Regions from separate parts of the Homo sapiens genome. Here regions 1, 3, 4 and 5 are each linked to region 2. The links are contacts of gene promoters, found by promoter capture Hi-C in blood cells and fetal thymus (Javierre and others, 2016). All regions are on one chromosome and are shown on one strand. Each heading gives the region's core, a stretch centred on a gene start or on the middle of the fragment in contact. The rest is flanking DNA. Distances are from core to core; before and after follow the strand shown.

Evidence for each region. Contacts are between HindIII fragments. The CHiCAGO score rates a contact against its expected background, and 5 or more counts as called.
Region 1: a contact is called between a fragment that was not itself captured here and the fragment with the promoter of PDHA1 in region 2, in 1 of 17 cell types (naive CD4 T cells). The highest score is 5.1, in naive CD4 T cells.
Region 3: a contact is called between a fragment that was not itself captured here and the fragment with the promoter of PDHA1 in region 2, in 4 of 17 cell types (naive B cells, non-activated CD4 T cells, activated CD4 T cells and 1 more). The highest score is 8.5, in naive B cells.
Region 4: a contact is called between a fragment that was not itself captured here and the fragment with the promoter of PDHA1 in region 2, in 2 of 17 cell types (naive CD8 T cells and non-activated CD4 T cells). The highest score is 7.3, in naive CD8 T cells.
Region 5: a contact is called between a fragment that was not itself captured here and the fragment with the promoter of PDHA1 in region 2, in 2 of 17 cell types (non-activated CD4 T cells and M0 macrophages). The highest score is 6.6, in non-activated CD4 T cells.

The regions. Positions count from the first base shown.
Region 1 is chrX:17,693,860-17,698,902 of GRCh38, reverse strand. The region is part of intron 3 of NHS (NHS actin remodeling regulator); the gene reads right to left. Among named protein-coding and RNA genes, the nearest start is that of SCML1, 41 kb to the left of the region's middle. The HindIII fragment of the contact is 1,204 bases long and covers 1,781-2,984 here.
Region 2 is chrX:19,341,027-19,345,585 of GRCh38, reverse strand. PDHA1 (pyruvate dehydrogenase E1 subunit alpha 1) reads right to left here and starts at 1,659. Exons shown (of 11, transcript NM_000284.4): 1 at 1,492-1,659. The coding sequence starts at 1,548. The HindIII fragment of the contact is 3,035 bases long and covers 1-2,708 here.
Region 3 is chrX:17,743,336-17,748,055 of GRCh38, reverse strand. It overlaps SCML1 (Scm polycomb group protein like 1), which reads right to left. Exons shown (of 8, transcript NM_001037540.3): 2 at 3,837-3,985; 3 at 2,517-2,600; 4 at 1,958-2,038. The coding sequence starts at 3,869. Among named protein-coding and RNA genes, the nearest start is that of SCML1, 8.2 kb to the right of the region's middle. The HindIII fragment of the contact is 8,319 bases long and covers 1-4,720 here.
Region 4 is chrX:17,786,402-17,791,572 of GRCh38, reverse strand. No RefSeq gene overlaps it. Among named protein-coding and RNA genes, the nearest start is that of SCML1, 51 kb to the right of the region's middle. RefSeq lists enhancers at 3,482-4,252, 4,253-5,023. The HindIII fragment of the contact is 3,463 bases long and covers 704-4,166 here.
Region 5 is chrX:17,727,204-17,731,786 of GRCh38, reverse strand. NHS (NHS actin remodeling regulator) reads right to left here. Exons shown (of 9, transcript NM_001291867.2): 7 at 3,459-4,583; 8 at 3,012-3,138. Among named protein-coding and RNA genes, the nearest start is that of SCML1, 8.0 kb to the left of the region's middle. The HindIII fragment of the contact is 367 bases long and covers 2,923-3,289 here.

The DNA of each region.
Region 1 (5,043 bases), core at 1,133-3,632, 1.6 Mb after region 2:
AATTAAAAATAGATATTGAATTTTGTTTAAGGCTTAGCCAGTATCCAAGGAGCTAACCATATGGGTTTTCCCCTCCTAGATCTGTTAATATGATATATGATACTAATAGATTTCCTAATATTGAACCAACCTTCCATTCCTAGAATAAATCCCATTGGTCACAGTATATTAATCTCCTAATATAATATGATGTTATATTCTGTTTGCTAATGTTGAATTTAGTATTTTTGAATCAATAATCATGAGTGATATTGGTCTGACTGTCTTTATCAGTTCAGGTGTCAATGTTATACTTGCTCCATAAAAGAAATAATAGGGAAGTTTTGCTTCATTTTCAATGTTTGTAAACAATTTATAGAGCATTGGGAACATCTGGACTTTGAAGGTTTAGTAGAATTCCTCTGGGAAACCATCTAGGCCTGATGTTTTTTAGTGGCATGGCTCCTTAATAACTTCTTCTGGTTCTCCCATGGAAATCAGTCTGTTTAAGCTTACCAATTCTAATGACGCCAATTCTGGCAATTTTTACTCTTCTAGGAAATTATCCATTTCATCTAGGTTTTCAAATTTATTTGCACAGAGGTCTGCAAAATAGTCTCTTATAATTTTTAAAATTTCTTTTGTTTCAGTGGTATTTTTTCCTGTCATTGCTTATTTTATTTGTGTTTTCTCTCTCTTTTTCTTGGTCATGTTTTTTCAAATAATCAGGACCTAATTAATAAATAAAAATCTTGTGTGTGTTTAATGTATAGAGCATATAGTTGGATTTGCTTTGTGAGCCAAATTGAAAAGTTTTTAAATAGGCAAATTAAGCTCACTCATATTCATTGATATGACTAAACTCTGATAAATGTTATAATTATGTGTATTTTGTTATATTTGTTATGTTTCTTCCTCTGTAAGATGTGTTGTCTTCTCTGTTTATATAAAACAATTTTTTGGTATTTAGGAAGATTTGTATTTTTTTTTTTTTTGCTAGTAGTCTTCTTTTTTCTTATACCATTTTAATGTCCTTAGTCCTCTGTTTTATTATTCAAGCCTTTACTATCTGGTTAACTAGTTCTTATTGGTATCCTTTAACAGCCACTTATTGCCTAGACAGTGATCAATTAGCTTATTCTATTTTCTTCTTTACCTCTCCCTTCTCTCATTTTTAGTTGTATCATTCTCTGTTGTCACAACATTTAAAATTGCACCTTAGTTTTCTATCTTCATCTCCACTGTACTTTTAGTTTTAGATCTACATTTACATGTATTAAAATGTATGCTACCCATCCTTTTGCTGACATTTCCCCAATTATCCCTTGGTTGGATGAAGCTTGTCCTGTGGTAGATGCCTCATAAAGGACTCATGGGTGCAAAATTCTCTAAGTTCCTGTATGTTGAAAATTGCTTTTCTATACTTGATGAACAGCATGGTTGGACATAAAACCCTTGCTTCATATATTCTTTCATTGACCTTTTGCAATCACTCTATGTGGATCTGCTAATCTATCTCTTACTCATTTGTGTGGCTTTGGTGTGTTTCACAAGATCCCTAGTTTAATGGCACCATCTTCTGTCAGTTTGTTGAAGTTCAAATATTTTAGTGTATTTGTTTGTTTTGGTGGTGAGGCAGGAGTTGAAGGACACATACAACTCCTGCGTGTCCTTGAATTTTTTGGTTTTATTTTGTCTTGCAGGGTCCTAGAAATTTCCTTTTTGCCTCTTTTCTTCTTCACTCCCAATTGCTGAAGGGCAGATTTCCCTTCCTGTTTGTCTTTTGTCTCCCCCAGAAGCTTTATATAGAGAAAACTGCTCCTGTAAAATATGCATACTTTTAGGCCCTTTTTTGTAGTTTGTGTCTATCTGAAAAAATCTGTAGTATTTTTCAGACTTAGGGCAGACAATTTTTCTGGTGGTGGTTTTAGATCAATCTTAGGACCCACTGCTAGTTCATTTCTTCCATGTGGCTTTCTGAATCTGCCCTCCCTCACCTTGTAACAGGAGGAAATATGCTGAGACTTGGTGTTTTCTCTCTTTTACTTAACAGTCAATTTGATGTTTGGGAATTCTCTGTCCTCAAGTTATGCTGATGGTGTGTTTTTCTGTGTAGTTTTATTTTTCCCTTCTTGTTCTATATCATTTTTGGAGGAAATAATGGGAGATGGGGACCTAGGGTATCACCATTATAGTCAGCTACCTGGGAGTCTCAGTGTATATTTCGATCCACCAAAAAACCTATGTATTCAATTGCCTCAAACAGGCTACTTTCCAGCCATCAGCACTGTAAGTCTAAGTCTAATAGTTTTTGAGCACATAAAAGTATTGTTTCTTACCAAAGAAAGGCTGTGTAGACTACTTCTAATGGTTAGTACCAAGAGTGAAAACACATGGTTGGATTTGCAGGGAACAGGCTACCTGTTACAGCTCTGGCAAACGCTCCTGTTTTGATACACATTTGCCATTCTCAATTTGACCACAGCCTAGACAAGGTAGAAAAATTACCCAGAAATTCTGCCTGGAGGCAAATGACTTTCAGTAACTGGGTTTTTGTTTAGTACACAAACACACCTCTCCGGGAACCCTTTCCTCTCCCTACCTTTCCCTAAATAATCAGTATTCTGACACTTAACAAGTCAGTCTGCAGCCAAGAGTTCATGTGGACAGAAGTTGATCCCAGGCAATTTCTCTTTCATATTGCCCTTGGGAACATTTTTACTACAAACTTTTTACATTTGGTTCCTAGCTAGGCCCAGATAACTCTTCAGATCCTTTACCAGCCTAAAGCTGTAGTTTCTGTGGTGCATTAAAGAAAAGGTTGAGATGCTATGTGCAAGTGTTGATTTCGTGACGTTTGTTTCGATCTCTTCTCTGTAGCTCAGGTCCACAGTAACTTCATGTCCCAAATAAATGATCTTAAACTAATCTCTGGCTATAGAATTTCAAAATCCAGCAGGATGGAATAGATACCCCCCCCCTTTTTTTTTTTTTTTAAGGAAGCTTTTCCCTGAAATGACCTCCTTTGCCACCCTTGATAAGTAAGGACTCTTAGATGGGCTTTAATTAGAGATACTCCTTGAATTTTCAGCTAACAAAGGGTTTAGGGTTTTATGCTAAATTGGCTTGTCCTGTTTCCTGTGAGTTCCCCCTGGAGAACTTTTGGTACAAATTAAATGTCAAGAAACCAAGCATCCTCTCTTCTCACTTGTAGGAGTTATGAGGTTACTTTGGAGCCATCACCAGATGCCACCAGACAGATGACACTTTGTCCCTTGAAATTTTAAAATATCCCACGGCACCCTTAGGAGTTCACTGCAGTGCCCTAAGGCACCTCAGCACACAGTTTGGGAATCACAGATATACAACCTTCCAGCCTTTTCCCCCTATGCGTATGTATATGTACACATACATATACACTCGTTGACATTTTTTGAGATTATACTATACACAAATTTATAAACTATGTAAAAATCCCTGATAATAAAATATACATTTTCCCATGTCATTAAATATTCTTCTCTAACACTATTTTTGATATTGTATTCTATCCTATAGTTATATTAGTATTCATTAAACTAAGTCCCTATTGTTAGACATTTGGGATATTTGTGATTAACTTTCCCATTGTAAACAGTGCTTTGATGAACACCCTAGTGAATAAATCTTTGCATACACTGATTATTGCCTTGGGGTGAATTCCTAGATGTAAAATTGCTGGATCAAAGTTATGAATATTTAGAGTTTTGCCCTCTAGAAAGAGTGTAACAATTTATACTTCCTCTAGTCTTATATGTGAGTATATGTTATAGGCTTTTCATTTGATGGTAAGAATTTTATTGTAAACGATTTTGAATATAGACTCACATTCAGGTATTTTAGGCACTGTGCTAGGCACTTGCACAAATACATATACATAGTTTAATCTTATTTCTAAAACATCATATTTAGCCTCCTTAACAACCTTGTAAAGTTGATATTATCCCCATTTTACAGATAAAGAGACTGGGAGTCAGAAAGATACAATAGCTTTTTCCAAGTCACACATCCAAAAAGTTGTAGTGCTGGGATTTAAACACGGTTGGACCTATGATCTTATCACCATATTATAGATACTTCAGGGAATTGATTGGCTAATAATAATAATAACATCTGATGTTTATGTAGTGCTTATGTATGAGGTACTGTTTACATGTATTACCACGTTCAATTCTCATGCCAAGGCTATGAGGTACTATCTACTTCTATCCCCAAGACACTGAAATGACTAACTTGCCAGGGTCATACAGCTCGCAAGTGGTAGAGCTGGTATTCAAAGTCAGGCAGTTTAGCTTCATGGTCCATGCCATTAATGACCAAGGTACAGTACAATAGCCTGCAGAGTTGCAGAAGACTGTATGTCAATCTCATTATGAATGCTTTCTTAAAGGAAGAAAAGCATGCCTTCACCAAATCTCAAACATGAAAGGAGAGTTGTCTAAGAAAATGTGTCTATCCAGCAATTTGACTACAAATTTCCTGTCTCTATACCTGCAGCCATTTGTCTTTCAGCAATATACAGTCTTGTGAGCTTGAACTATGTTCTATCCAGGCCTAAGGGATATAACTCAAATGAAAATCTTCTAATCCTTGTAGTGACCCAAACTCTTGAACAAATAAAACAGTTAAAATTACTTAGAAATACTAAGTATTATCATTTGGGATGGACAAACTTACTGAAGTTTACCTAAGTGTAATCCATAGTCTTCTCTTATTGATGTTTGTTGGGTAAGTAAATGATGTACTCTCGTTGCTATTCGTCATTTTAAGCCTTTTCCTATAGTCTTACTTTAGTATTTAGACATTATTAAAAATTATGCAGATCATGAGAAAGGGTTATATTTTTATGTAATTTCTGTAAATGCTCAAAATTCTTCTCTTTCACCTCCCCCTTCCAAGAAAACCAACTTAATTAGCCATAAAACATGTTATAATGAATGGGAAAATATTTTAGCATTTTTATGCAGAAAATGCCTCATTAAAAGCAAATGCCTCAGCAAGCAGATTTGAGCTGCTTAAGAACTT
Region 2 (4,559 bases), core at 410-2,909:
TTTTTTTTTTTTTAAAATACGGAGTCTTGCTCTTGTCGCCCAGGCCGTAGTGCAATGGCACGATCTCCGCTCACTGCAAACTCCGCCTCCCGGGTTCAGGCTATTCTCCCGCCTCAGCCTCCCGAGTAGCTGGGATTACAGGAGCCCGCCACCACGACCGGCTAATTTTGTATTTTTAGTAGAGACGGGGTTTCACCATGTTGGCCAGGCTGATCTCGAACTTCTGACCTCAGGTGATCCACCTGCCTCAGCCTCCCAAAATGCTGGGATTACAGGCCTGAGCCACCGCACCCGGCAGTTTTGTCATTATTTTAGGCAACAGGATTCCTAGAGGGGCATACCTCTTACCTTTTGACAATCTCTGCCTGTACTAAGTAGAGCGGTATCAAGTCCTGGGGGAAATACCAGAATCCCGAGGCCTGCAGTTACACCAATTAACACGACCTCACTGTGCCTAGGGGGGTCAGAATGCTAGCTCAGGTGTTAGGCACCTCTAAATGCTGAGGCCATGAAATAGTGCTAAACTCTACCCCCCACCCCTCAAGCATCGTTGCTCTTTGCTTTAGCTACTTGTACCCTAAGAATGTGTAGGTAAGGGGAGGGGAGGGCAGCGTCCTCTGAGTTCTGCTTCGGCGCTCCTGAACTCACTGCCAAGAAAAGCTCAGATGTTGAGGGAGAGGGAAGAGGAGGAAGTTTGTTTCTGAAGAGGCTGACCTTCTGTGAACCCGCCTCAGAACTGAGCACAGGTGTTCAAGAAATGTATACCGAACTGGAGACTCAATAAATAACACTATTCAACACACATGTTATCGATTATGTGCCAGGTGCTATTTGGAATCGTTTCCACACGTGTCACTCGTTGAATCCTCAAGACAACCCCAAGAGGTGGGGACTCTTATTATCTCCATTTTAGAGTTAACTGATAACATTTCAGAGATAACTCTTATCTCCATTTAGAGATTAACTCCACTTCGAGCAAACATTTTAGGAAACCGGGTCCCCGGGACGTTTAAAAACTTGCTCAAGGTCACAGGGCTAGTCAATGGTGAGGGTGCTGTTTGAACGAAGCCACCCTGTCTCCAGATTCTACGCTATTACAAAGCCTCTCGGTCAAGAGAAATTAAGTTAGAAGATCCGAAATGAGTGGGGTCAATTGGAGACTCGAAGGAGGCCGAGGCCACCCTTTCCGTGTCCTGTAACCCAACAGGCACCTCTTGAGCACACCGACTTCGCCTGGCGCACAGCTGGGCCCGGGGGCGGGAGGTGGGTGTCGAGAAGGGGGAAGTTCACACGGACCTTGGCGTGATCCCGGTCCGTGCCGCTTCTCCCGAGGCCAGGAACGGAATGCAGGGCGCGGAGGCGAAGTAAAGGCTCCCCGGCTCCCCTGGCGCCTTCCACCCCGCTCTGGGTGGCCCGGCCTGGCCCGCCCTGCCCTCCGGCCCCGCCTCAGCCCCACTCGCGCCCCATCCCGGCCCGCCCGGGAGGTCTCACCGGCTTCTGAGAAGCGCCAGACAGCACGCGGGAGACGGCGGCGAGCATCTTCCTCATGAAGCACAGGCAGTGGCGGCAGCGGCGACTCCTCACAACCCAGGAGGCACGACGCGGGTGCCCCCAAGTCTCCTTCAGGTGCCCCAGCAGACGCCACGCCTCAGTCGCACCGCGGCGTGACAGAGTCGTAATAACGTCATGCGCTGCGCCGGGCCGCGGGCCAACCAGAACGGCGTCCAGGGGGTGCCCCGCCCCCGCTAAAGGCCTGAGGCTGCCCATTGGGTATCAGCGCCAGAGAGGGAGGGGCTGAGGGCTCTTTCCGACGCCACGCCGCGGGCGGGTGAGGAGGCGGGGCTTGATAGCGCCTGCGTGGGAAGGTGGGGCCCCCGCCTCCAGGGCGCCGCGGGAAAGGAGCCTTCCTAGATTCCGCTCTGCTGACTACCGGGGAGGTTGTGCAGGCCCCGTCCTACCGAGCGCCTACTCCTGCCGGTGCTGCAGCTCTGCAGCCCTCGTTCAGTACATCTCGTTCAGTACACTAGATGATGAAGATTAGCAGCATGCTCAGAGCCAAAAGACAGAACATCTGGTTTCTGTAAATGGTCTGCCACTAACTTTGTCTTTAAAAGATCACGTAGCAGTTGGACAGTTCTGCCCTGTCTACTTGAACGCGGATCAAAAAATTTGTTTCCCAATATATGTCGAGAGGACAATGGGAAAAATCTTTTTTCTCTAGTTATTGGTTCACAGGCTCACTGCGAGTTAACAGCGTGGCTCAGCCGATGATAAAAGCACACACAGAGACAAAACACCAAAGCAACAAGGGGCTCTATTCAGAGGATCAAAGGGCTCAGGAACCCATTGTGTTGTGTCCTAGTGGGATTGCACCTGGGGTTCCGGGTTCAGATTTGGGCTCCACATTTTAAGGGGGATAATGAGTAAACTGAGTGGAATCCAGGGGACAGTGGTCAGAACGGTGAGGGGCTGCGATTGTGACTTATGAAGAACGATTAAAGAAGTTAGGAAGAAAACAGGCTAACTAGAATTGGCTGGGTTATGATGTAACAACTGACCTCCAAATTTCAGTGATTTCAAGAATTTGAAGTGACGCGAGCCATCGTACTCGTAACACAGGTCCCTCACAGCGTGGCACCCTCTCTCTGGAACTTAGCTTGTCTCATGGATGAAGAGAAAAGGGATCATTTAAACCGGCTCTCAAAGCTTCTGCCCAGAAGTGACACATGTCACTTCCTCTCAATTTTCACGGACCAGAGCTAGTTACCCGACCATGTCTGAGTTCCACAAGGTGAAATATAATCCTCCTGCCAGGAGGAGAACAGAAAATTGGATGAACAGTAAAACCAGAGAGGATTGGATATGTCTTCACACATTTTCAGGCCAGTCATGTTCCAGGAGGAAGAGCTATTTTGTGTGTGTGTGTGTGTGTGTGTGAATAAAATCATTTCATTTCAGCATAACAATGAATTTTCTAACAATGACAATGGTCCAATGAGATAATTCTCTCCCAGTGTCACTGAAAGTATTCAAAGCAGAAGTTCAAAGCATGACCAGCTCTCAGCATAGCTAGAGAAATAATTTGGGCACTGGGCCAGACTCTGGACTGAGAGATCGTGTTGCAGTGGAAGAAAACTTCTTAAAGGAGTGAGAGGGCGCCATTAAAAGGCAGAGATGGACGTGAGAAACTTGCATGGTATGATTTCAGCAGCTGCTGCTGCTGATAGAATATGAAAGGTAAAAGAGAATGAAAAGGTTGGAGGCCAGATGTCCAGCTCAGGAGAAAAAGCTGGTCTGAATGGTTTGGGACATGTTGACCTGGTGGTGGCAGTGGCACAGCTATCTGAAGATGTCCCCCGGGAAGTTGGAGTTGTAAGTCTGGAACATTTGCTAAAAATATTAATTTGGGAGTCATCTCCACGGGGTGGTGATATTGGTTGTGCATGTACGGGAACTCTGTAGGCCATATGAATATGAATTCATTCATTCATTTGCTCATTCATCCAACACCTATTATTGAGCACCGATTTTGTGTCAGACACTGTACTACACACTGAAGATATAGCAAGGAACAAGTAAAATATAGGTCCTACTTAAATACATGATTGAACAAATCAATGGGTTAGAAGGAACAACTTTTCCTTACAGTAGAATTCCAATTAATTAATATAGAAGGAATGATGAAAATAGAAAAAGAAAATCACCATTTGGCAAAGACCACAGTAACTGTTGCAGGTGAGAATTATCATCAATACAGGCTAAAATTAGTGGGTAAATGTATGATGAGAAACAGGACATTTGCCTCATCTCAAATGATCTCTCCACTAGATTCATTACAAAGTTTAAAGTAACTTTGCAGTGCAGAAACAAAGTAACCAATTTTTCAATGACTAGGATATTTTCTCTGCACTTCTTGTTCTTCATATATATACATATATATACACACATACGTGTATATATATATATTTTATTTATTTATTTTTTTGAGACAGAGTCTCGCTCTGTCGCCCAGGCTGGAGTGTAGTGGTGCAATTTCAACTCACTGCAAGCTCCGCCTCCCAGGTTCACGCCATTCTCCTGCCTCAGCCTCCCGAGTAGCTGGGACTACAGGTGCCCGCCACCACGCCCGGTTAATTTTTTTTGTATTTTTCGTAGAGACAGGGTTTCACCATGTTAGACAGTATGGTCTTGATCTCCTGACCTCGTGATCCGCCCGTCTCAGCCTCCCAAAGTGCTGGGATTATAGGCATGAGACACTGCGCCCGGCCTCTTTTTTTTTTTTTTTTTTTTGAGACAGATTCTCACTCTGTTGCCCAGGATGGAGTACAGTGGTGACATCTTGGCTCACTGCAACATCTGACTCCCAGGTTCAAGTGATACTCCTCATTCAGCCTCCCGAGTAGCTGGGAAAACGGGCGAGCACCACCATGCCCGACTAATTTTGTATTTTTTTAGTAGAGACGGGGTTTCACCATGTTGGCCAGGCTGGTCTCAAACTCCTGACCTCAGGTGATCTGCCCACCTTGGCCTCCCAAAGTGCTGGGATTACAGGTGTGAGC
Region 3 (4,720 bases), core at 1,030-3,529, 1.6 Mb after region 2:
TCTGAGAGTGGGGGCAGTGGTCTATGTTTTCACAAGCCCCCCAGGTGATTCTGATGGCCCTAGTGAGAACCACAGGGCTGCGGCACTGAGATAAACAGTGCAGGCTCTTGGGGAACATGGTTGGGGTCAAATACTACAGTCCAGCCACTTATTGGCTGTGTGACCCAGGGCAAGTTACTTAACCTCTCTGTGCTTCAGTGTCCTCATGTAGGGAATCAGGATGAAAAGCTCTCTCAGGGTTCTCTCGAGGACGAGAACCTTGCTATAGTATTAGGTTAATACTAACAGTAACAGCACTACACTACACCCGGTCCAACAGTGCTCAGTGGTCTCTTCATGTTACTATTGTTATTACCAGTGGCGTGACACAGGTGGGAACAGGAGGCTAAGCCTGCACAGAAAAGCAGTCCTAACCCAGGCTGCAGTCACGGAGACCTTTTCAGAGGAGGTGAGGTCTGAAGTGAGAATTAAAACATGAGAAGGCCCTCGCCAGGTGAGGATGCATGGAAGGGCTTACAGCATAGAAGGAACAGCAGGTTCATAAATACCCAGAGAGAAAAACAGGAAGCCAGGTGTGGAGACAGCAAGTATGAATGACATTCCAGGAGTGGGGCTGTCACAGGAAGAAGAGAGTGAGGATGACAGGAAAGGAGGGATGGGAAGCAAGAGAAGTGGCTTCTCCAAGATGTGGGAGAACTCGTAGAGGGGAAGGAGGGACAGGGACTGGAGCCAGAGGAGAGAGAGGGGGATGCCCGATGGGGGGCAGCTCTGAGTTCAGGGAGGGGACTAGATGCAGAAAGCAGCAAGGGTGTCAGCCCTGGTCACTAGAATGGCCGGGAAGGGGTCAGAAGAAGGGCAGGGATGAGGGCAGTTGGTTGGCTGTGGGGACAGTTATGAGGACTCGGAGGAGAGGACTGCCCCAGGTGCTCCACTATCTCCACGAGTGAAGAGGCAGGACTAGGGAGCTGAGGTAGGCAGGGGATGGCGAGGTCTTCCTCTGCTTCCAGACTAAGCAGGATGGAGACAGACTCAAGAGGGAACTGGGATGAAAGAACAAGGCAGGCTGGAGTGCCACCTCTGTGATCTAGAACGGGTAGGGGAAGAAAGAGCCAGCCCCTTGGCAGCAATGGAGAGGGGCCCTTGGGGCCATTTCAGGCTGACCATGGCCCTGGACACCTCCCCCCACAGATGCTACCTCCCACCTCAGCGTATAAGCTGACCTAGACCATGACCTAGCAGTGCATGGGGAGGCAGGCTGGGGAGAACCTGCTCCCTCCCTTCCCAGCTCGCCTCTGCACCCACTTCCCCCCAAGACTGTATGTGTCCCTTGGAAGCACTCCACTTCTGTTCTCCTCCATGATCATGATAAACACCCAAACAATTTTACTTTCCAAAGTATGTTAGCTCATTCCATTCAAGAAACCTTATATATGGTAAGAAACATTATATATATATAAACCTTCATTACCTCTGGGGTATGCAACTCACAAAATTCCCAGTAATCACATCTCTACCAACATGGTGATTCTTAAAACAACTCCTCAAAACTACCTTAGGTATGTTTCTTTACTAAACCTTGATGGGCTGCCACTTTGTTTCCATTGAGATATCTTGATGTGCATTTAGGCACATACTAAATTTCATCCAAATCAGTCAATTTCCTTTAAGGATTTTGTAGGGGAAACTAATTTAATACTGAGCAATGTAGATGAAAGAGACATAACTACATTTGGTTGGTAATGGGCTTTTTAAAAAGCTATTAAATCTACATGTTGCTATTCAGGAAATGTGGTTCTAACTATAAATTGTTTTAAAAAATCATCACAATGGGATGATAATCATAAATAAATTGATAGGCAAAATTTCAATTAATTGTACACTTTCCCTTTATGTGAGATAAAGAGAATTTTTGCTTAACATTTTAGAAAACTACATTGAAGAGACAGAACTTCCATACCTGGCAATGAATAAGGACATCATCAACTGTCTTCAGTTGCTCTTCAGTATTACAGGATGCGTCAGATACAATATTCGGTTCCTGCTAATATTTTAAAAGTAGTTAATGATTTATTTCTGTAACAGCCAAACTGAACACTGGGGGCAGGGGGGAGCTATATTTATTTATTTAAATTGTTTTTATTTATCACCAACTTTTCAAGGGGTTTCAGAAGTCTTAAATTAAGCAGAGATTTTTAAAATTCACATTAATATGAGAATGAAAAACTGACAATTGAGGAAGGGGGCAAGAAAAGAATTTATTATATCAGAAGAATCCAGGTTTAGAGTTTTATACTGAAAGTGAGTACAAAACTGCTCTTAATTTTCTACTATATAAGAAAAAGGGGAAAGTAAATTGGTTAAGTGCTCATTCTCTGATGAAAGCAAGCATACAAATTCAGGGGAGAGATATTTTCTTGAGTGTGAGTTTACGGGAACTCCATAGTATACGAGGAATTTACATCTTTTCCTTTAAAACAGCAAATGTTAATATATTTGGCAATTAGCAATTAACATACTTTATTGACAAATTCAGGTTTTGTTTCATACGCATAAAGAATAGTGTTGTCATCTTCATCGTAAGTAGGTATTCTTGTTTTTATCTGAGGAAAATTTACCAACAAATTAAAAGGGAAGATGAAAGACAGAACTAAAAGAAAAGTTGAGGGTTTAATTTCACTTTCAAGAGGCTGTTACAAAGGCCTATTTGTGATATCAAAGGACCTTTGCTCACTGTAAATACTATGACTACATGAAAAGATGTATTTGCAGAACTGTGTTCTCATTAACCCAACTACACTTAAGACAACAGTTTTCACTGAGCTTAACCCTTTATATGCTTCATGGTAGAAAGACTAGTCCTTTAGCACCAGAAATACTTTAAAAGCAAATATTTCTAACCATGAACAAAGAAATAAATGTTACATGTTTTTTGATTTCTAAATAATCCAACAGTGCCCCTCTGTGGACAAGACAGAAAACATTTGAGCACCTATTTTTCTTGATACATTAATCTCTAAAGTACCTTAAAACTTTTAAAAATAAGACAGGGTATAAATAAGTAAGGAGTAAATAGCCATTACACTTCAGTATAATAACTCTTCATTCTAAGAATGAATTATGAACTATGGGAATAATTTTATAATAAACATACTTGGTAGCTATGTATGTTTTTGTTTCAAAATACATGACAGAAATCACAAAAACATATGGAATTGGGTTACAGTTCAGTACTTTTAAAAATATACTATCTTACCCTTGTATAGTGCCTTATGCTTTTCAAAGTGCTTTTACATAGTTATGTCAGAGAAAAATGACTCTTGATAGGCAGTTAACATTATCTCCAAAGATTTTTGAAAAACATTAGGACTGACAGTAGTTAAGAGAATTGCCTAGACTACTTAGGTAGCATTAATATCTATGTCCTTATGTGACTAAAAAAAAGGTGTTTTCTGTTAAGCCAAATTATTTATAGTTTAATAATCTACATACTGATTCAACTTGAAGGATGAAGAAATATAGAAGAATATAACAGAAATGTAAAAACAGCACAACCACTTTGAAAAACTGTATGGCAGATTCTCACAGAGTTAAATTCACATGAACTCCATGACCTAGTAATTCAACTTCTGTCTGTTCACCCAAAAGAAATTTAAGTGTGTGTTCACAAAGAAACTTGTACACAAATTGTCACAAGAGCTTTATATATTACTGTTAAAATATATAACAAAAATTTACTTATGATCTATGCATTTCACTGTATAAAATTAAACTAAATTTAGAGTAGAAGTATAGCACAGTAAAAAGAACAAAGACAGATTTTCAATTTGAATACAAACCACATCGATTTCACTGGAGCTGTTAGACATCATTTTTGTGCAACAGGAGAAACTCCACTTCCTCTGAGTTGGACCTAATTATTTTTAAACTTGCTGGAGGGTTTATTTGTGATACTGCTTAGTCACCTAAGAGTGGTAAACCTCTACTCCTGAAAAGCAACGCATAAAAAAGTTACTTCATACACTTACTACCTTAATAATATGGATATACTCTCAGAATGCTAACTCAAATAGAATTGGACTTTGGGTTGAATTTTAGAGAGTGACAAAACCAGAATTCTTCCATGGCCAATTTAGAATAAATCTTTCAAAACTGAAGGGCCATATTGCTCATGACTAGAAATAAGAATCAAATCAAACACAATTACAAACTGTGAAGTGACTGCTTAGTAACTTAAAGCCTACAGAGTAAATGCTGGAAACAAATGAACAAGAGAACGCAAGGGCTAACTGCTTTTGTAAAGGAGCTCCAAAAGGCTCTTGACTAAGGAGAAAGCATTGCCTCCAAAATGTAAGCCAGGAGTCTATTCTGGATTGGGTCCCCCCCGACTATGTGGGCTGGGCGGACCACAAGAGACACCACCTCCTCATCCACCAGGTTTCGAACACCAGTTGAGATGATCTCTAAGGTCCATTTCAACTTTCAAGTTAGGATTGCCTTATTAAATTTTATATTAAACCTAAATAAGTGGATGTGAAAGGTAAGCCAAACAATCTAAAATTAGGAAGGTTTGGTTATGGCTCTGAGTCACTTTACTATGGAACTAGAAAACTGGCTGCAAGAGTATCGGATTATATCTTGTACTAGAAATTTGCTTTGAATGTCTGCATCACAGTTACTGGGAAGGGTACGTTAATGAAAGAGCTACCCTATCCTTTCTGAA
Region 4 (5,171 bases), core at 1,186-3,685, 1.6 Mb after region 2:
AATGTGGAGCTGTTCTTCATGACTTCTCCCTCACTTTCACCTCCCAGATACCTGTCTTCCTGACTTTGACTCCCCAGTCTTCCTCAAATCCATCATTCCTTTCCTCCATACTACTGTTCTTGAGCCTGCCCACATCATCCTCTGCCTAGATTCTTACAGTGGTGTCAGAACGGGATGGGCACCATGCACCCATCTTTAGCTTGCCTGATTCTCTCCTCTATACTGCCACCGGGATTGTTTTGGTAATAGGCAAGCTTCACCATGTCGTTCTGCTGCATAAAAGCCTGTGGTGTTGGATACCTCCCCGCACCCTGTGGCCTCACATGTCAGCAGGCCTCCTGAGGTCACGGCCAGCCCAGCACTGTGGCTAGAACTCCCTGCTTCACCCTATGTGTAAGCTCCAGGGATACAGGAAGGTTAGCAGTTCCCAGCCCTGCCTGTGAGGTTCCACCCCTGAGTGCCCTCCTCTTGACACTCCTTCCCCACCTTCTTGGGTTTTTTTTGTTTGTTTTTTGTTTGGAGACGGGGTCTCTCTTTGTTGCCCAGACTGGTCTCGAACTTCTGGCCCCAAGTGATCCTCCCACCTCACGCTCCCAAAGAGCTGGGATTATAGGCACCAACCACTGCACTTGACCTTCGCCATCTTCTTACTCTGACTAATCCTTCAGGATTCAGCTCAAAACAACACCTCCTCCAGAAAGCTTTCCATGACTGCTCTGGCATAAGCTAAGAGCCCCTCTTGCCCTCCCATAGCAACATATGCACACATCTGTATATCAACTCATCCATCTCATTCAATTGAAAGTATGACTCTGTCTATCCCACTGTGTCACACACTCCTCTAGGGCCAAGGTCATTGTCATTGTATCTCATACACCTAACACAGTGCTTGACATGTAGGGGACCCTCAATAAATGTGTGTGGACTGCACTGAACCTATGTGGAAAGTGCAAGTGTGCCCTTCTTAGCCAAACCAGTACAATATATGGAAACCCAAACATACGAAACAAATATCTGGAATCTATAATTGACTTTGCAAAAGAAGATGAACTACTTGATTCCTTTAAACCGTATGGCTTACTATGTTTTCAAAACAAGATGGATTCTTCAAAAGTGGTTTCTACACTCTTATAAAAATATACATAAAACATAAAGCAAGCAATAGTCAACATCTCATCACTGGCATACAAAGAAAATGCTTGAGCATTCACCTCCCCAGAGTTTGTGGATTTCTTTATAAATGACATGCATGGACTACCAAACAAATATGTACATTATAAAATAAGTGCAAAAATAGAAATGTTGGACAAAAATGAAACAAACATAAATAGGTTCAATATTTTCTTTCTACGCCCCAATTCATTATCTTATGTATCCCACCGGGTCATAATGAAATGAGACTATTATACATCTTTCAACTGGCTGAACACAACCTTTAAATTCTCTTAGAGATCCATGCATTCTTCTTTCTTGAAATATGAGAAATAACCAAGCACAAGAGGTTTCTGCATCAGAAGTAGAATGAGTGCCTGTCACTACACCTAAGCAGGGGGATGGCTGGAGACCCTGAGTAAAAGTTAAGAGTGCCAGTGTTAGAGCCACAAAGTCTGGATTGAATTCCCAGCTTTGCTCCTTTCTAGCTGTATGACTTTGGGCAGGTCACTTAACTTCTCTGCTTCCATTTTCTCAACTGTGAAATGGAAATAATAAAATATCTTCAAGTATCTGGGTTTGTGCACTGGGGTACCAAGGACAGGGTACTCAATAAATGAGCACACAGTAAGCATGAGCAAGGGATATAAATGATATAAATAATGATAAATAAATGTATTTGTATTATATCTTGTTTACAGATAATAATAGGGAGCAAGGTCACCACAATTCTAGATTTTAAAAAGACTTTAATTCCAGTAAGCAGAGTTTTAGATTTCACTTTGTTCCATGAAAGTGGGTTTCCAGCCAGGCACTTTCATGCCTGCTTCCAGACTACTGACCAATATTTGAACTAATGTAAATGTCATTTTGATTTCCTTCCCATTGGCCTGAGAAAAGGGTTGATCGCTTGGCTATCAGCAAGAAAATGAACTCGTTAGAATAGGAGAAAAAGTGACACAGGCTGGGAGAAAGAAGCCTGAAGGCAAAATTGGGCCTGGAATCAAAGTGGCATGTGTTCTTAGACCTCACCCTGCTTTGGATTCCTCATCAGTAAAACCGCACAACTCAGCTGCCTTTCTCATGGGGATTGATGAGCTAACGCAAGCGCCCAGGGCCCATGAGTAGGAGGTGCACACGGGCCAGGGTTCCCTTCCTTGCTTGCAGCAAATAGACGCTAGATGAGGATGGGACTTTCAGGTGTCCCCACCCAGGGACAGTCCCTTATCCAGAGGCCACCGTCCAATCACAGGGCCCATGGAAAGCCATGCCCTGGGGGCAGCTCTGTAGTGACACCAAGAGGCTATGCAGCCTTAGAAGTCTGCAACCTGGTGAGCAGGGGGGTTGAGGCTTCCTCAAAAGTAAATTATACAGCTGAACCCCCTTTATCAAACTCTTCTTACAAGAATGTGATGCCTTAGAGTGGATGAATTGTTATTTGAATTAGAAATCTAAAGTTTGCTTTACAAGAGATAACATCAGTTTCTGTTTTGAATGAGGGAGGTTTCTTGAGTGCACTTGAGACACGATCTAGCATGTGGGCAACTTCCGAAGAACACATCTGCTATATAAATTGGGGGCAAGTGTATTTGAAATAACTACAGAAAAGGGTTTGTGAGGTGAGCATAGAAAAGGAATCTCTTGCTCATGCCATTTATGAGCTGCTGACCTCTCCACCACGGGAAGAGGATTTTTTTTGCAGCAAAGGAATTCAAAAAGTCAGAACAGCCCTGCTTCTCCACCCACCTACTGGGAAGAAACCACCCTCTTACCCACTTCATCTGCGCTGGGATACAGCGCCCTCTGCTGGCAGATCACAGCAACAACCTCAGGAATCTTCCAGAGTGGTCCTGGCACGGGCACCTACCTAGCATACACCCCTCCTCTGTGAGCCTCTTGAGACACCCCTGGGGAGGGCCCAGACTGAAAATCCTGAAGGGTCCAGATTTTCAGAAAAGAACCACCTCACCCTTCATTAATGGGAAACCGTGTCCCAGCAAAGCCAGGGAGAGAGAAGATCGCTGGCCTGGGACTTGGTAGCCTTGGGGACAAGCTAAAATGAAAGCTGGGGACACAGCACACTGCAGGGTGCAGAGCTGAAGCAGTGACCTCGACATTTCTGGGGACGATAGGAACAGAGCAGGGGAATGTTGGGGATCTTGGAATGCGACTCAGGGGAGCTGGGGGACGGAAGCGGTGGTGGGAGCACAGGCCTAGCCTGGCAGCCACTACCCTTGAGCAAGCAGGGAGGGTGGGCCAGGGGCGCTCCCACGACACAGCCAGTATTGGTCACTCTGCCAGACACTGGGTTCCCTACCCCGGCTGCACCCCAGGATCACCAAAGGAACTGTCAGGACGCCTGATGCCCAGCCTGAGCCCAGAGATGTCCATGCTCCTGGTGGTTACCTACAAAAGGGTGGCCTTGGTAGAGTAAAATTTGCCTGAGAACTTCAGCCTGTCTCCCAGGCTGAGTCTAGCACTGAGACCCCGGGAGGAGGTCCGGGAAGTGGGGCCTCAAGTGTGCCCCAGGAGTGGTAGAAGGCAGCAGCACCTCCACCTGGAGGAAGCCTCCTAGTGAGGCACGACCTGGGCTGTAGTCTCCTCCGACACCGTCGGCCCACTCTGATCTCTGCGAGGCGCACGACTCCGGGCCCAGCTCTCACTCACCTCTCTCCTGGTGGTGAAGCAAATGCCATGTAGCATCATGATGGATGTCCTCCTCCCACACCTGCATTTGGGTGAGGGGACCAGTACACACCATCCCACCCTTTCAGGGCCCCAGGAAGGTGGGCCCTGGTGCCCACTCTGCCCTCCTGCCCAGCCCAGTTCAACAGCAAGTCTGCAGCCTCGAGTCCAGATTGCAGAGGGCCAGGTTCTGGTGACCCTTCTGGATTCCGTATCTTGATGTTTCAATGCCGAGAAAGGAAACAGGAAAGGCACCCTTCGAATGCTCTGGTCAAAGGTTCCACTGAGACCACTGCAGAAAGCTCAGCTTCTCAGACCTCAGGCAAGCTTGAAAGTACTTTCCTCTGGGAGGAGCCAAGATGGCCGAATAGGAACAGCTCCAGTCTACAGCTCCCAGCGTGAGCGATGCAGAAGACGGGTGATTTCTGCATTTCCATCTGAGGTACCGGGTTCATCTCACTAGGGAGTGCCAGACAGTGGACACAGGTCAGTGGGTGCACGCGCACTGTGCGCGAGCCAAAGCAGGGCGAGGCATTGCCTCACTCGGGAAGCGCAAGGGGTCAGGGAGTTCCCTTTCCTAGTCAAAGAAAGGAGTAACAGACGGCACCTGGAAAATCGGGTCACTCCCACCTGAATACTGCGCTTTTCCGACGGCCTTAAAAAACGGCCCACCACGAGACTATATCCCACACCTGGCTCGGAGGGTCCTACGCCCACGGAGTCTCGCTGATTGCTAGCACAGCAGTCTGAGATCAAACTGCAAGGCGGCAGCGAGGCTGGGGGAGGGGCGCCCGCCATTGCCCAGGCTTGCTTAGGTAAACAAAGCAGCCGGGAAGCTCCAACTGGGTGGAGCCCACCACAGCTCAAGGAGGCCTGCCTGCCTCTGTAGGCTCCACCTCTGGGGGCAGGGCACAGACAAACAAAAAGACAGCAGTAACCTCTGCAGACTTAAGTGTCCCTGTCTGACAGTTTGAAGAGAGCAGTGGTTCTCCCAGCACGCAGCTGGAGATCTGAGAACGGGCAGACTGCCTCCTCAAGTGGGTCCCTGACCCCCGAGCAGCCTAACTGGGAGGCACCCCCCAGCAGGGGCACACTGACACCTCACACGGCAGGTTACTCCAACAGACCTGCAGCTGAGGGTCCTGTCTGTTAGAAGGAAAACTAACAAACAGAAAGGACATCCACACCAAAAACCTATCTGTACATCACCATCATCAAAGACCAAAAGTAGATAAAACCACAAAGATGGGGAAAAAACAGAGCAGAAAAACTGGAAACTCTAAAAAGCAGAGAGCCTCTCCTCCTCCAAAGGAACGCAGTTCCTCACCAGCAAC
Region 5 (4,583 bases), core at 1,857-4,356, 1.6 Mb after region 2:
CGCATTCACACATCTGTCTAAAGTGCATTTTGAGCCTGTCCTATATGATGGGATACTAAGCATTAGGGCTATAGAGATGAAAAGTAAGATATGTTCCTTGTCCTTGTAGCACCCACAGTCTGAGAGAAATTCTCTGATAACCAGGACACAAATTAGGTTCTAGAGATGATCATTTCAGATAATGGCTAATGTGGAGGCTAGAGGTTCTAGAGGATACTTTGTAAAAGTTTAAGAAACTATACTGCTAACAGCCAGGCGCAGTGGCTCACACCTGTAATCCCAGCACTTTGGTAGGCCGAGATAGGCAGATCACTTGAGGTCAGGAGTTCGAGACCATCCTGGCCAACATGGTGAAACCCCGTCTCTACTAAAAATACAAAAATTAGCCGGGCATGATGGAGCATGCCTGTAGTCCCAGCTACTCAGGAAGCTGAGGCAGGAGAATCACTTGAACCCGGGAGGCGGAGGTTGCAGTGAGCTGAGATCACGCCATTGCACTCCAGCAGCCTGGGCGACAGAGCAAGACTCTGCCTCAAAAAAAAAAAAAAAAAAAAAAAAAAAAGGAAGAAACTATACTGCTAACTAAACTATACTTCTGGTTCCAGGGGGTGAAAGACTATAACTTTTTCTTATTAACTCTGTCTCTGCAATACAGATGAAATGATCTGATGTCTGGGATTGGCTTCCAAATAATACCAGAGAAAGCAAGTGGATGGAGGTGTGGGTGGGACAGGATTGGCCCTAGTTTGACAGTTGATAATCCTGGATGATGGATATGTCAGCAGACATTATACTATTCTACCTTTTAAAATCCCTCCATATAAAAACATAATTAAATGACGTTTTAAGTCAATTCATCTTGGGCTGCAAGTATCATTTCCTATAGCTTCCTAAGAGCATCAAGAGCATATTAAGCAGTAAGCCAGCTCTCTGTGGGGAATTGAAATCCCAGACCATCTCTGGAGCTCTTAAAGCTTTGTATACTGTAAGCTCGCAAGAAAACAAAATAATTCTTTTTGCTGTGATGTAAATAAACAAGTAAATAGATAAATAAGTAAACCCTGCACAAATGCAAGTCTAAGATTACCAAACTCAATACATCTATTGAACCTTGACTCCCATCATCATATTATTGATTTTCTTTGGTAAATCAGCAGGCATAAATTTGGTGGATCTTCAGTATGACTCAGTTCATTGATAGGCAGCATGCACTTTCATCAACTTAAAGATTCATATGGTAGAGAAAATGTGAACTTCACAAGTGTAGATATGCTTGATTTTGGTTCACAGAAACCTCTGTGGTTGATATCTTGTATATGGCAGTGTCTGGCACTCCACTAAGTTAGGGCTTTCAAACTAACAATGGCTTTTAGCACCTACCATATTCTAAACACAAAAAATGTTATCATCAAAATCAAATACGTGAGCTATAGGCATTCCCATGTGCAATAAGGGAGTAGGTCCAGAGGTTTTAACTTACTCAAGACTGCATAGGAAGTGGCAGAGTTGGGATTCAAATCCAGGTCTTTCTGACCCCACTATTTACGTCCTGTCCACTATTCCATACACTAGCATTTGGTCCTTTGGGAGTAACTTTTTAACTTACATAGCAGTTTAGTAATTTTTCCTGGGATTGAAGATAAACTGTGGGGGTGAGGGAAATATAATCAGAGCTTAGACTAGGCACAGGGGTGAAGGAAAAGAAACTAATGGTTCTTCACCCTCTGAGTAGAGAAGTATGCCTGCTAAGGTATACATAGAAGGTGTTTCTGATTGGCTCCTTTTAAAACAATTGTTGAACAGCAGTACTCCTTCTTTATGAGAGAACCACATCAACAGAAAACAGAAATTCCTATAAAAAGTAGAATTCCAGGAGAAAAAGATTGTAAGCTGCTTACGATGAATTTGTTTCAAAAATGATAACTTTATGAGGTAGAAAAGACAATCCCCAAGTTGTATCTCTTGGGAGTTCCATCTAGGTTCCCGAGGTCTAAGAAGACAGTTGTGTTTGTGAAAGGAGGAGGCATGGCAAATCATGATTGGCTAGCTCAGTTATATGTAGATTAGGTGTCCAAGGGCTAGTTCCTGTTCTGTTCTTTGGTCATTAGCTATAAGGAATAATTTTTGCAAATATGGACCATGGATCACAAGGGCTCATGGGGGCAGATGAGGAAATATGCCTTTGCAGCATGGACACAACACTGTCCTGGAAAAGCAACCCAAAAGACCTGTATTCATGGAATATGGGCATTAATTTTGGGGATGAAGGCCAGTACTATTAAAGAAATTTAAGTTCTAAGAAGAAAGAAAAACAGAGAAATTATTACTTGTTCTGAGCTATAAAATGGACAGGAACACGTATTGTCTTTTCTCAAACTTGAGACTGTTTTGTGATCAACTTTGTGTGTGTGTGTGTTCTCTAAGTTTTATTTTATTTTAAGCTGACAAATAATTGTATATAGTTATAGGGTACAATGTGAGTTTTTTATTTTTTATTTCAATAAGTTTTGGGGGAAGAGGTGGTATTTGGTTACATGAATAAGTTCTTTAGTGGTGATTTCTGAGATTTTGGTGCATCCATGGTGAATCAACTTCTGTTTGTCTCTGCTGGTGTATGACTACAGCTTTGATCATATTTTTTAGGTTCAAGAAAGTATTCAAAAGTCAGAGATTACACTAGAGTTTGAGCTTTCACTCCAAGTCACTTAACCACAGATTGTTTTCACATAAAAACTTGTTCCAGAATGTCTTTTCCTGGGGAAAAATAAAGCCACTCTTACAAAAGTCTCTCAATCGAGGTCTATCAAACTCTATATAAAGATCCTATTTCCCAACTTGCATATCAGTCTATCAACTTGATTTGGAAAAATTATTCTTTGCTTGCTTTTGTTTTTGCTGAATGTATTACAATTACAAAAAGCTTTCCTGTATTTGCATTTGTGAGAAGTACCTGAAGGGGCAAAACCTTTGTTGTACCTTTTGTTTTGGGGGACTTGGTAATGTTGCCTCACCTGTGAATGACTGCAAATAAATCCTCAGTTGTTCGAGGTTTGTTTGGAGACACGAACACACCCTCTGCTTCAGCTTGGGAGTCTTCACTAAGTGGTGAAATGATGGAGTCATCACTCGGTGATGATTCTTAAAATAAGAACAGAAGAATCTTTAAGAGGAAGTTACCCAGCACGCTACTGTACTTCACTGACTCAGGGAACAAACAAACAAACAAACAAACAAACAGAAATTACCTTGCTGCCATTTTTTAAAAATGAGAGAGATACCTGTCAAAGCTTACTCACCCAGTAACAAAAGCTTTTATCTCAATTGTTTTAATAAGTGCAAAGAAATAGTGGAGGGAAACCAACACCCAGGGCTGTACCGTATTATTGGGAACATAAGAAAAAATTCCAGGAAGTGCCATGAGACACATTTCCTTTATGACAAAGTTATCAGTGACTGACCTTTCAATGAAGCCTCATCCACATTTCCTTGGGTCTCCTCTGCTTTGCTGTTATCAGAGGCACTTTTGGCTGAAATACCTGAAGCAATATTTTCCTGCTTGGAACATTTTTCAGGGAATGAATTTACAGATGTTATCTCCGATTCATAGCTGATAGTACCAGGCACTTTGTCATGGTGGCGGCTCATAACAAATTGATGCTTAAATTGATTGCTTACATCTGTTGCTCTAGTTGGTGAGTCTGACTGAGATGTGATTACATCCACAGATTCAGGTTGTGCAACTTCCTCCAGACCTGCAGAGGGTGCCTTCTGTACCTGTTCTAGAGTTTCGTCTGGACCAGGTCCATATTGTATTATTTTACCATCCAAATCATTTGGGCGGGCAGCAGAGACCCTCTGAAATCCTTCTGTGGGAAAAGCACAGTTTTTGGTTGGCGTGTTTTCTGGAATAGGCTCAGTCTCTGTACGCACTTGGTCTTTTGTGACATTTGAATCTAGAAGACTGCTACCAGCTGATGTTATGGTTTCTGGATCGCAGCGATTCTTCACATCAAAAGTAGAGTTTTTTTCTAAATGTAGTTTATCTGGTCCCATCTCAACTGCAGAAGAGTCTAAAAAGGACAGTATGGTGTCTTCAGTGGAGTATTGACGAGATACTGATTTATTTGCTGTATGCGGCCTAATCTTACTTGGAGACAAGGCAGCCGTTGTGAGTGTGCTTTCCTCTAAATAAGGGAGATCTGTATTGTTTTCTTCTTTTTGCTTAACTTCTTCAGACTTGTTGATGGACCTAAGGTTAACAGATTTCAGGATCGTTGGTGTAATTGCAAGGGACGGTGGAGGATTCGACCTCAGTGTTTCTCCTACTGTGTTCTGCTTATTATGAGTAAAAACATGCAGTGGATGACGGTGGTGGAATGGTTTGTTCAAGACATTATGAAGAGCACTTAGATCAAGATGGGTAGGAGGTATAATTGGAAGTTCAAGGTCTTTACTCAGTGATATAGTTCCATCTTTTAAAGAGGGTTGCTGTAGTGAGGATTTTCTTTCTGGGACTTTAGGTTTTCTTTTGCTACCTCCGGGAGACAATGGACCTGAAAAGAAAGCTGTAGGGAAAGAGGATG